Regions from separate parts of the Homo sapiens genome. Here region 2 is linked to region 1. Evidence: promoter capture Hi-C in human tissues and cell types (Jung and others, 2019). All regions are on one chromosome and are shown on one strand. Each heading gives the region's core, a stretch centred on a gene start or on the middle of the fragment in contact. The rest is flanking DNA. Distances are from core to core; before and after follow the strand shown.

Region 1 (6,229 bases), core at 1,188-3,687:
TAGCAAGCATGTCAGATTAATCTTCAAATTGCAATGGGCAGAAAGGACCTTCAACCAAATTATTAAGCCCATGTCTCTCTCAAAGCATGTTAATAATGTAAGCAGTTTCATTGGCTATTAAGATTTTTAACTTTCTTAATTCTCCACTGTATTACTGTTTTTTAAGGCTGGGAGGCAGGGGATCAAGAATGTCATTCCATCCTGAAAACAAGGGATGTTATGTTATCTTTATACTCACTTAACACCTAGCACACTGTCAGGCACCCTGTAGGCATTTAACATACTTTTGGAATAAGTTGATGTAATGGCCTAGGAAGAGCATGGAAATCTTTCTGAGGACAGGTGAGTCCAAATCCTGGCACTGCTGGGCAACAAAGACCATCTCCAGAATTAGAGTTATCTATCGCGGTAGAACAGGAATTTGCACGTGTGTCTTCAAAGTGGCATCAAGAGGATTGACTGTTTCCTGAGCTGCCATCCAAAAGCCACTTAGGGAGGGATTATACTCGTCTCCAGCTTCACCACGCCTGGAAAACTCGTGCCTTGCCTCTCTACTCCCCCTTCCTTTTCCTGGGTTTGGGTTTACACTCCCAAAACTTAAGTTCACAATTCTACAAGGCTGGTCTAACCCAGACCGCGATCCGCTCCCCATTTCAGGGCGTTTTTCCAGCGTCCACTGGGAGGGAGGCCAGGCCGTGCTAGGCAACAGGCAGGATCCACACGGTGGCTCCGCACATCTTAGAGGGTGAAGGCAGAGGGGTGGCGGGAAGCGGTGGGGGCTGGGGGAAGAACGAGTTCAGGACCTAGGCACTATCCGGAGGTTTCTCATCCCTCCCCAAAGCCACGGCGCCAACCGCTGAAGACGCCAGGAAACCATCGGCAGGGGCAGGGAGCGCGGGGTCGCTCTGGGTCAGGACTGAGGAAGAGGGATGGGGGGTGGGGGGGAAGAACAGAGACCCAGCGGGCGACAGTACCTGGTGTGGCTGTGGTTGCGGGGACAGTCCTTCTTCTCCATGATGGCCGGCACGCAGTTGGTGAGCTCCGTCCAGTCGGCGTGCAGCCCGCAGCTCCAGCCGGTGGAGAAGCGGGAGAAGAGCCACGTCTCCTTCTTGCCAGGCCGGTGGCAGGTGCACTTCTTCTGACCCGCTTTGCAGCTACAAGGCTGCTCCAGCCGGATGTTCTTCACCAGGTGCCGGCCGAAAGTGGTGCCCCCCGTCTTCTGGATGTGGAGGAACACGATCACGTCGCGCCCTTTGATGTTGAAATCCACGAAGCGGGTCAGGTCCTTCAGGCTGAAGTTGAAGCGCGGCACGAATCGGGGCAGGGAGCCGTTTTCCGGGGCCTCGGGGTCCGGCTCGTCTTCCTCCTCCTCTTCCTCCCCCTCCCGGGGGTCTCCGGGCTCCTCGTCCTCCTCCTCCGGCGCCGCGGCCCCCCGAGGTCCCTCGGGGGGCCCCCGGGGCGGCGGGGGCAACTGGGGCCGCCGCTCCCACTCCTCCGGCGGCGCCTGAGCCCGGCGGGCGGGACCCGGGACGGCGGGCGGGCCGGCCTCCCCCGCGCGGGGCTGCTCCCCGAAGTTGGTGCAGGAGCTGGTGCAGGAGGGGGACACGTACTGGTACATGATGACCACGAAGAGGAGAGTGAGCACCGGCGTCAGCAGCCACTTGTTGAACCTTTCATCCATGGTCCCGCTCTCAGGCCGGCAGGCGAAGCGGCGGCGGCGGCGGCGGCAGGGCGGACGGGCGCCCGCTCGGAAGTTTCGCGGACTCCGGGGCGCGGCTCGGAGCCCGCCGTTCCTCCATGCCCCTGACGCCGAGGCGTGTGGCTGGCTGGCGGCCCCGCGGCCCTCGGGGCTTGAGGAGCCGGGGCCTGCGAGCCGGGCGGGGGAGGCGGGCGCCGGCGCGCTCGGCTGCGGCTGCGGCGTGGGGCGCCCTGCGCTCCCGGGTGCGCCCGGGCCGGCCCGCTCCCTGCTCCCGCCCCGGCGCGGCTCTCTCAGGCGACGCGCGGCATCCCGCCGGCGGCTTGCAGGCGCTCAGGCGCTGGGGAGCGGGGTTCGGGTCCTGGACCTGCCGCGCGCAGCCGGGCAGCCGGGTAGCTGCGGCCGCGAGCGCCGGGGCTGCATGAGGCTCGCCAGGGCGCCGGCCAAGGGCGAAGGCGCGGCCCGCTCCCGCCGCCCCGGCCGGCCGCGGGCACCGCGCCCGGCACGCGCGCCCGGCGCCTTTGCCGGCAGGTCGCGGGGCTGTGGAGCCGCGAGGGCTGACGGCGCTCGCCGCAAGTTTGCAGAGCGGCCCCCGCAGCGCAGCGGCAGCGGGCGAGGCGCCTCTGCGGAGACGCCTCTCCCGGCGAGTCGCACTGCCGCTCCGGGCTGTCCGCCCAGGCGCAGGCACGCAGACACACTCGCACACACAGGCTGGCACCGCCACAACCCGCCAGCCGGTGTGACAGGAGCCCTGCTACCCGCAGCAAAAACCTGCCCTAGGTACGGAGCATGCGCCAAAGCCTCCCCCAGCCCCGGAGGAGTTTCCAGGGGAGGAGTCCGCTGCTCCGCGGGGCTCGGAGGAGGCAGCTGGGGGTGGGAATCCCTTCGGCCGGGAGCAAGGAGAGATTTGGCAGAAAGGCAAAGGTGGGGCGAGAGGAGGCCCCGAGGTAAGCGTCGCTGGCGTTGATCTGACACCTTAAAATGGGCAGCTTCTCTGTCTGGTAGTGGCCGGCCTTATTTTCAGGAATAACACCTGCACACTCCCGGGAACACTCACTAGACCAGACTTTACACGGGTTGGCAGTTCCCTTCTCAGCAGGGGAACGTGGCTCCAGACTGCTGTGAATTTCTACCCAAGACATTCTAACTGGTGTTCGAGTTTTATGGTGGTCCTCCCTTAATAACAAACTTGGTGCGTCCAACTATACAACTGTATTCAACCAGCATCAATTAACCATTAAGCGCCTAACTGTGTATCAGGCTCTATGTTCAATACACACTTTCTTTCAGCACTAGACAGTCCAGCCCTCAACCATGCAGTACTTAGAACATAAAAAGGAGTTTAGGGATCACCTCCTAAAAAAATCATTCTACTAATAGACGTTGAACTCCTAAATGTTCAAGATTTATTCCTTCCCAACAATGGTGGAAGATAACACTTAAGCTTGCCTATATTTCATAAGCCCTAATTTGTATGCAGATGTTTTTTGGAAACTTTATTTTTCAAACATCTAGATGTTGCATTTAGTATTACCCCAGAACTAAATCTTTGCTCAATAACAACTTCTGTTTTTCAGATAGTGAAAAGATATACGATCAAATTGTTGTAACTGCCCTACCACAGTCCCTAGACCTGCTCGACCTATTTTCCGAGTGGAGAGTGGCAATGTGTTAAAGGCAATGTGTGAGGACAATGCAGTGTGATTCCCTGGCCCAGACCAATGTGTCCCTCCCAGCTACACTACCGTATTCCACAGGTGTGCTATAATATTTCATAGCAGCCCACCGTCCCATCTGGCCTTTTTATGAATCCATGCACTTGTTTCTTCCTGAGACACTCTGTCGATGTCATCTATTTATCAGGGTGTCCCCTCTGCAGCCATCAGTGAAGATCCAGGGCTCTTTCAGGGATGCTAAAGTTTGCCCATAGGATACTATTTTCCTTGTTTAGACAGGTGGAATTCTTCTCAATAAAACTTCCCTCCTCTATTTCCTTTCCCGTTTTCAACTCTTTAAACAACTCCAACCCTTGCCTTTCCTAATATGTAGGAGGCTATATCAGTAGAAAAGGTGTTGGGTGAGATGAATCAGCTTCTTTAAAGCTTATTTGATTCTATTTCTTTTTCTCTCACTTAAGTTTGAAATCCTATTAATGGCATCACACCCCACTCCACAGCAAGAAACTGTGATAAAACAAAAGCCCAACAATTATTTTCTGAATGTGTCTGCTTAATATACACATACCTCTGCTTTAGTTAAGTAAAACATCATTATACCTTTTTATATCACCTTATTGAAGAAGCTTCTCATTTCCTATAAAATTGCTTGATATCACATGGATAAACATCACCTTATTAGCTACCAAAATGGATAACCAGAATGCTAGTGGTAGTTTGTATAGTGGAAAGCACTCTCCTAGCCATTATTTCATTTGCTTCTCAGAACAACACTCTAAGGAGATAAGAGAAGTATAATATCCCATTTCAGAGATGAGGAAACTGAAGCAAGGAAAGTTAGGTGAAAGCAAAGCCAAATTAGAAACTGCTAACATCCCGAAAATACAGTCACTGAAGAAGTTCAACAAACATCAACAACAGAGCCCATAATTTCCTCTCTCCCCTCTTGAGACCATTTGAGTCAAGAGGCAAGAAGAGACAACAGAATTGCAATAGAATAATTAAATTATGTTATCTCTCCTCCTGACTTTATAGGCAAAGCTGAGCAATTCTACATCCTGCAGTATTTTGTCACTTAGTCTATTAGTTTCAAGAAAGAGGGAAAAATAACAATAACAATCATAAAATGATTATATAATTGTTAAATCACTTAGGAGAATTGTAAAAATAAAATGTACGACAAACATGTAGCAGCTACATTGCTAACAAAACGTGTATTTCCATAAATAAGTGTACCTTTAACACTTTTCAAAGAACATTATCTCCGAAAATCTCGTTTTATTTTCAGTAAAATAGCTACTGAAGTGACTCCATTTCCTTGAGGTAACCACAAGGAAAACAATGCATAGAATCAAGGCAATTACACAGACAATTCAGGCATTTACTCAAAAATTCATTTTTTAATAATAGGTAACTTTGGTCGTGTAAATACAGTCTGTCCCAGGTGTGGTCTCCCTATTACAGTTGTGGAACTTGGTGTGAACCTAATCAAAGCTCTTAAATCACACAATAAACAGCCTTCCTTATCTACAAGGGCAGACCTCACATTCAGGCAAAAATGAATAGAAACTTTCTAAAATTGAACGCTCTCCAGGTAAAAAGGCAAAACATACTTGCATTCAGTCTACTATAGTTACTCCACGATGACACCAGCTGGCAATTGTTTCTCCCTAACATATAGCAGCTACTATGATTCCCACACAAATTATTAAAATAATAAAAATAATGTTTTCAAAGAGCTTTCTTCCACTTCCTTTGCCGGTCTAGCAATGAGCTTAACACTATCTGTGAAGCAATTTGTTCACCTAATTTTATGCCTTAATAAGCTTTACTACAATTATTTTCTTGCCTGATTCGTTCTCTGCCTTGACTTTAGTATACTTCCTCCCTGTTCTTCTGCAATATTCTCAAACCTGTTAACAACATCGCACTCCCCCAGGATTCAAACTTTTGATTAGAACAGTCCCCATTTAATCAAGTTCAATTGGGAAATAAAATTGCATCTCAACTTCTCCATTTTCCCTTTGGTGCCAGAAACTGCCTTGAGAATGTTGAAGAAACCCTGGAGAGATTAACAATCCAAATGATCACAGAGGATAGTTTTGGATCCCCTACATTTGCACAGAGGAAGAGAGATTTGAATGCCCCTCAATAGAGATGAAAATAAAACAGATAATGTAAGTCATTGGCAGCATGACTCTCTCCTACAAGAATGGAAAGTGCTCTTATATACTGAAATGACTTTTGTTTTTCAGTTTTGTAAACAATCTTTCTCCCCACAAAAGCCCCTGGGGTAAGCAGTTTTGCAAATAACCAGCAAAGTGACAGCTTTCTTTTTCCTCAGGAAGTTAAGCAGACAGAGCCCACATAGTTAGAACCAATGGCAGAAAGAATTGGGATATATACTGATTGTGATATATTCCGGTTCACTATATGATTGTAACTTTGGGGCAACCATGACCCTACATACCACTTTCCATAAAGTTCTATTTATCTGAACAGTTCATTCTTTGCCTTACTGTGTAACATCCACCATAGATAGCTGCCTATGAGAATGAATGGAAACCATCTGTATGTATAATGTATTCATTAACTCAGTATAGTGTAAGTAGATGCACTAATCTTTTCCCAATAGATATTCTTTTATTTCTTTGATAAGGACTTGTTAAGCATTTGCTATGTACTGTGTACTCTTCTGAATGCTTTAGATATGCTATTAAACAAGAATAAGGATCCTGTCGTCATGTAGCTTATAGTCTAACAGTGGAAAAATAAATTATAAAGAAGTAAACAAGATTCATTCATTTGATCCAAAGATATATATTGAGCCCCTGCTGTATGCCATGTAGTTTTACGT
Region 2 (6,229 bases), core at 2,402-4,901, 44 kb before region 1:
ACTCTGTCTCAAAAAAAAAAAAAAATGTTCAGGATTGTTCCTCTAGGGAGCAAGAAACAAAATCTCCAGAGGGTAGAATGGAAAAATGATGTATTCATACCATGAAATGCAATAAAAATAAACAAACTATTCATACCTGCAATAACATAGATGATGAGCCTCTAAAACATGCTGGGTGGAGAAAGTCAGACACAAATTAGTACATGTGGTATGATTCCACGCATATGAAGCCCAAGGACAGGCAAAATTAATCAATGGTTACAGAAGTCAGAAAGTGGTTATTAAATGGGGGTGGGGGTGGGGGTGGAGGAAGAAATCAATTAAAAGGGGGCATGAAAGAACATCCAGGAAGTAGCTGCAAGGTATATACAATGGCCAAAACATACTACATATTTGAGATTGTGCATTTCATCATATATTAGTTATATTTCATTAAGGAAAACTGGGATAAAATAAGTCTCTAGAAAGCTAAGGGTTTAGCTCTAAAATGATTCCAATTCAATGCACAGACCTTTTGTCTAGCATGACCCTTTCACACCACAAAGTCTACAGGATATGAGGAAAACCATCAATACCTAGATGGTATCTAACCAAGGATGATGCTGAGGAGAAAGGATTTCTTCTATCAAAATAAGTAAAAGTAGATGAAGAAACTCATTGCAAATGCAAATATCCTATTTTGAAATAGGCTAATCAAATCATTTGTATATGTTAATTTGTTTCACTGTAGTAACCATTTTACTATATATATATATATATATATATATATATATATATATGTTTCATAACATCATGCTGTATACCTTAAATATACATGATATGGTTTGGATTTTTGTCCCCACCAAATCTCGAACTATAATCCCCAGTGTTGGAGATGGGGCCTGGTGGGAGGCGACTGGTTCACGGCGGTGGAGTTCTCATAAATGGTTTAACACCATCCCTCCAACCTTGGTACTGTATAGTGATAGACTCCTCACAAGATGTGATTGTTTAAAAGCGTGCAGCACCTCCCCCTTCTCTCTCTTGGTCCTGGTCCTACCATGTAAGACGCCTGTTCCTGCTCTGCCTTGCACCACGCGTAAAAGCTCCCTGAGGCCTCCCCAGAAGCAGATGGTGCCACGCTTCCATATAGCCCGTGGAAGCCAATGAGCCAATTAAACCTCTTTTCTTTATAAATTACCCAGTCTCAAGTATTGTTTTATAGAAGAATAAACTAATACAATACACAATAAAATTTATTTTCTTTAAAAATCCAATTTAAGGCCAGAGGTAAAATGAACACAAGGTCAAAGAATCACAGAAACTTCTAACCTCCTATAGGGTAAACAAACCTGTGTATTGTAGGTGCACCTGACGGTGATAACTTACCTTAAGCATACCCTCAGAATGACCCTATACGGCAGACACACCTGAATGTGTGTTGGGAGTTCCAAGTGTGGCCAATCAGAAGATTCATTCCTTATCTATGAGAAATATCTGAGCCCACCGGTGGAATGCAGGCTGCACAGGGGAGAGAGGCCCTTTCTTTTGGGGTAAGTGAAGGTTGCCAGGTGTAGTTTGTTGGTGGGGGTGGAGGTGCTCAGTGAAAATGCTATATAAACTGCATGCTTTTTATAAGTGGTAGTGGTTCTTCTGTCCTGCTACCACTGAGCCATCCCTGTAAGTCCTCAATAAAACTCTATGCCTAATTCACTGGCTGTGGGTCTCTGGCCTCTTGAACCGGGCACCATCCCTGCTGAAGTTAATAGGCACAACACCTCCCTAACAACGGCCCTATTAGCCCATCTTGGTCCGCTCTGAAGCAGTATGCCGTGTGGTTTAACAGTTTTCACATTTGAATTGTTTTTCTCCATAAACACAGAAAAACTTGGATCCCTGTAAATTCCACCCATTGCATCTAGTTCTGCCCTAGTTAGCAAACTCCTCTTCCATGACAGCCCTAGGGATACCGCCAATAGCAAACAAATTTTCTTTAAATTCCTCTTATAATTAGACTCAATATTCCTTCAACTGTTCCTCATATGACATGATTTTTAAGTTACCTCACCATTCTATTTTTAAAGTATATGTCTAAGACCAGACTTATGATTCACTGTGTGTTCTTACCATAACAGAGAGCAGTAGAGTTCTACTTTTATTTGTCCAAGTTTGTATTTTCTTTAAAAAAGGAAAGAAAGTCCACGGTGATAACTGCAGCCCACGTGTTCCTGGGACACATGGGAATGAAGGAAGAAGATCAACACACCCAGCAGTCTCCCATAAACCTGCTAAGAAGGGTGGCAGGTCCAACTCAACATGCAAGGCAGGGTGAGGTAGAACAGATTTCAGGAGCATGACTGTGATCTCACTATACAGCCTCCTTCCAGAATGGTCTTTTAGAAGTTTCTTCAGCAATGCCAGGTCTCAGGAGCAGCCTTCCCCTCTGACCTCTTCTTTCAGTAATGTGGCGCAGTGCTGAGAAACTTGCAGGTCCCAATGACTGTGTCAGACAGAATGGATGTGAGACTGTGCAGAGTCTAATATACAACTGACCAATATGGGATGCAAGAAAAGAAAAACTCTAATTCTAATATAAAATATGCCCCTTCCATAAAGAAAACTATTATTCTTGGATCAAAAATGTGTCACATGCAATTCTAGGGGTATCCATGATGATTTCATTTTACCTGGAGAATTCACACTAGGCATATGGAGAGAGATTCTGCAAACCCAAAAGAGCAACTGTGAGAGACGGTCAGGACAAAAACATCCAAGACTACAGAGGCAAGAATGTCCTTGTAATTTTCATCACCAACAAAATGCTTGTGTGTCTTTAATTTTAAGAAATAATAAAGAAATGGAATATATCAGGAAAACAATAGATAAATAAATAAACATGAAAGGGTTTTGAATATTACAATGCAAATAGCTAGTAAAAGTAAAGTCTATACAATAGTTACCAAGAGCTTAGAAATAAAAAGAAAAAATTATGACACTGTTAAAATGGAAATAGGTAAAAAATAAAAATCAGAAAAAGAGCAAAATAAAAAATATTAAATACAGAAAATGAAAAGAAGATAAATAAAGGTAAAACCATGACACCAAAAAAGAGGGGGTAAAAAAATAACACAAGTGAAAAATTACCATATAAAGTATTAAAAGTATTAGAAAAAGATATTAAAATACATAAAGCCATAAGCTGAGACATTTAAGAGTGTAACTGTAATAAGACAAATATAAAAAAAGTTTCAACTTTTCTAAAATTCATAAGATAAAGAAATAAAAGAACAACAAAAGTAAATGGCAATCAAAACAGCAAGGGGCTGGCAAAAAAACAGACACACAGACCAATGGAACAGAATAGAGAGCCCAGAAATAAATCCATGAACTTACAGTCAACTGGATTTCAACAAAGATGCCAAAAATAAACAATGGGGAAAGGACAGTCTCTTCATTAAATGATGTTGAGAAAACAGGATATCTGTATGCAGAAGAATGAAATTGGACCTTTGCCTCACATCATACAAAAATCAACTCAAAATGGATTACATGTTTTAATCCATTTAATCAACTCAAAATGGATTAAAGACTTAAATGTAAGACCTGAAACTGTAAAACTACTAAAAAAAAAAAAAAAAACATAAAAGCTCAAAGAGTTGCTCTGGACAATGATTTTTTTTGTCTATGATCACAAAAGCACAGGCAACAAAAGTAAAAATAGACAAATGAGATTACTCCAAACTAAAAAGCTTCTGCACAGGGCCAGGCAGAGTGGCTCACACCTGTAATCCCAGCACTTTGGGAGGCCAAGGCGGGCAAATCACCTGAGGTCAGGAGTTCGAGTCCAGCCTGGCCAACATGGCGAAACCCCGATTCTACTAAAAATACAAAAATCAGCCAGCCATGGTGGTGCACACCTGTAGTCCCACCTACTCTGGCGGCTGTGGCAGGAGAATCCTTTGAACCCAGGAGGCAGAGGTTCCAGTGAGCCAAGATTGCACCACTGCACTCCTGCCTGGGCAACAGAGTGAGACTCCATCTCAAAAAAAAGATAATAGGTCAGGTGCAGTGGCTCACGCCTGTAATTCCAGCACTTTGGGAGACCGAGGCGGGCGGATCACGAGGTCAGGAGTTCAAGACCAGCCTGGCCAACATAGTAAAACTCCATCTCTGCAAAAAATACAAAAATTATCCAGGCATGGTGGTGGGCACCTGTAATCCCAGCTACTCGGAGGCTGACGCAGGAGAATCACTTGAAACCGGAAGGCGGAGGTTGCAGTGAGCTGAGATTGGGCCACTGCATTCCAGCCTGGGCAAAAAAGCGAAACTCCATCTCAAAAAATAATAATAATTAATTAATTAATTAAAAAGCTTCTACACAGCAAAGGAAACAATAAGGTCAAGAGACAATCCACAGAATGGGAGAAAATATTTGAGAACCATGTATATTATGAGTTAATATCCAAATATAAAAGGCACTCAAAAGATTCAATAGCAAGAAAACAAATAACCCGATTAAAAAAAAATGGGCAAATAAACATGTCTGAAGAGGCATTTCTCAAAAAACATACAAGTAGCCAACATGTATATAAAATAATGCTCCACATTACTAATCGTCAGGGAAATGCAAATTAAAGCCACAATGAGATATTACCTCACACCTGTTATAATGGCTACTAACAAAAAGACAAAAGATAACAAGGGTTAGTGAGAATGTGGAGAAAAAGGGACACCTGTACACTATTGATGGGGAGTATAAATTAATACAGCCATTAGCTGGGGGGTGCAGTGGCTCATACCTGCAATCCCAGCACTTTGGGAGGCTGAGGTGGGAGGATCACTTGAGGCCAGGAATTCAAGACCAGCCTGGGCAACATAGTGGGACCCCATCTCTACAAAAAACTTAAAAATTAGACAGGCATAGTGGCATACGCCTGTGGTCCCAGCCACTCAAGAGGCTGAGCTGAAAGACTGCTTGGGCCTGTAAGGTCGAGGCTGTAGTGAGCTGTGATTGTGTGCCACTGCACTCCAGCCTGGGTGACAGAGCAAGACCCTGTCTTAAAAAAAAAAAAGAAAAAGAAAAAATTCAGCCATTTTAGAAAACAGTATGGAGGTTCCTCAAAAATTAAAAATAGAACTACCATATGATCTCACAATCCCATTACTGGGGCTATATCCAAAAGAAAGGAAATCAATATATTGAAAATATATCTGCACTCCCATGTTCCTTGTAGAACTATTCGTAATAGCTAAGATACAGAATTAACCCACATGTCTATCAACAGATGAATGGAAAAAGAAAATGCGCTCTGTGTGTGTGTGTGTGTGTGTGTGTGTGTGTGTGTGTGTGTGTGTGTGTGTACTGGAATACTATTCAGTCTGAAAAACGGAAGGAAATCTTGTCATTTGCAAAAACATGGATGAACCTAGAGGACATTATGTTATATAAAATAAGCCAGACACACAAAGACAAGTACCACATGATCTCATTTATATGTGGAATCTAAAAAAATTGAACTCAGAGTGTAATGTTTTATAAAAAGTAGAGTACCATATAAAAGTTTTTACCTTTTTTTTTATCTTTTCCATGATATAAGGCTTAGTGAAAACTTCCTAACAATTTTGTGACGTTTGTCAGGTTACAAATTTAAAAATAATTAGATGGTCTCCACGCCATTATCTATCTTAGACATTTTATTTTCTAGGTAATAAATGATATGTGATTAAAAAAAAAAAAGAGTAGAATAGTGGTTACCAGGAGTTAGGGGAGGGAGAGGAGACTAGGGAGATGTTGATCTGATCAAAGGATACAAAATTTCAATTAGATGGGAGGAATAAGGTCAAGAAACTTAACTTAGTGACTATAGTTAATAACAATGTATTATATACTTGAAAATTGCTAGAAAAGTAGATTTTAGGCATTCTCACTACAAATAAATGATAAGCATGTATGGTAATACATAATGTTAATTAGATTTATTTAGTCATTCCACAACATACATATTTCAAAACGTCATGAGTACATCATAAATACATACAATTGTGTCAATTTTTTTAAGTTTTTTTAAAAAAAGTAAACCTCAATAAAATGTTTAACTTCAACCAGTAAGATTTTTTTTAATTTGTTTAAAAGAAAAAATATCCTAAGCCTTAAGTAGACTAATAAACAAAGAAAAACATTCTAAAGAATAAATGGAAGCAGTTTCAATGAATAGAAGAGTTTCTTTAGTAAAGTAAAATATACTCTTCT

Evidence for each region. Contacts are between HindIII fragments. The study calls those that stand out against the background at their distance.
Region 2: a contact is called between a fragment that was not itself captured here and the fragment with the promoter of HS6ST3 in region 1, in 1 of the 25 tissues and cell types used here (dorsolateral prefrontal cortex).

The regions. Positions count from the first base shown.
Region 1 is chr13:96,086,315-96,092,543 of GRCh38, reverse strand. HS6ST3 (heparan sulfate 6-O-sulfotransferase 3) reads right to left here and starts at 2,437. Exons shown (of 2, transcript NM_153456.4): 1 at 975-2,437. The coding sequence starts at 1,681. RefSeq lists enhancers at 2,113-2,613, 2,614-3,114. The HindIII fragment of the contact is 5,364 bases long and covers 1-3,469 here.
Region 2 is chr13:96,131,233-96,137,461 of GRCh38, reverse strand. The region is part of intron 1 of HS6ST3 (heparan sulfate 6-O-sulfotransferase 3); the gene reads right to left. Among named protein-coding and RNA genes, the nearest start is that of HS6ST3, 44 kb to the right of the region's middle. The HindIII fragment of the contact is 3,967 bases long and covers 1,668-5,634 here.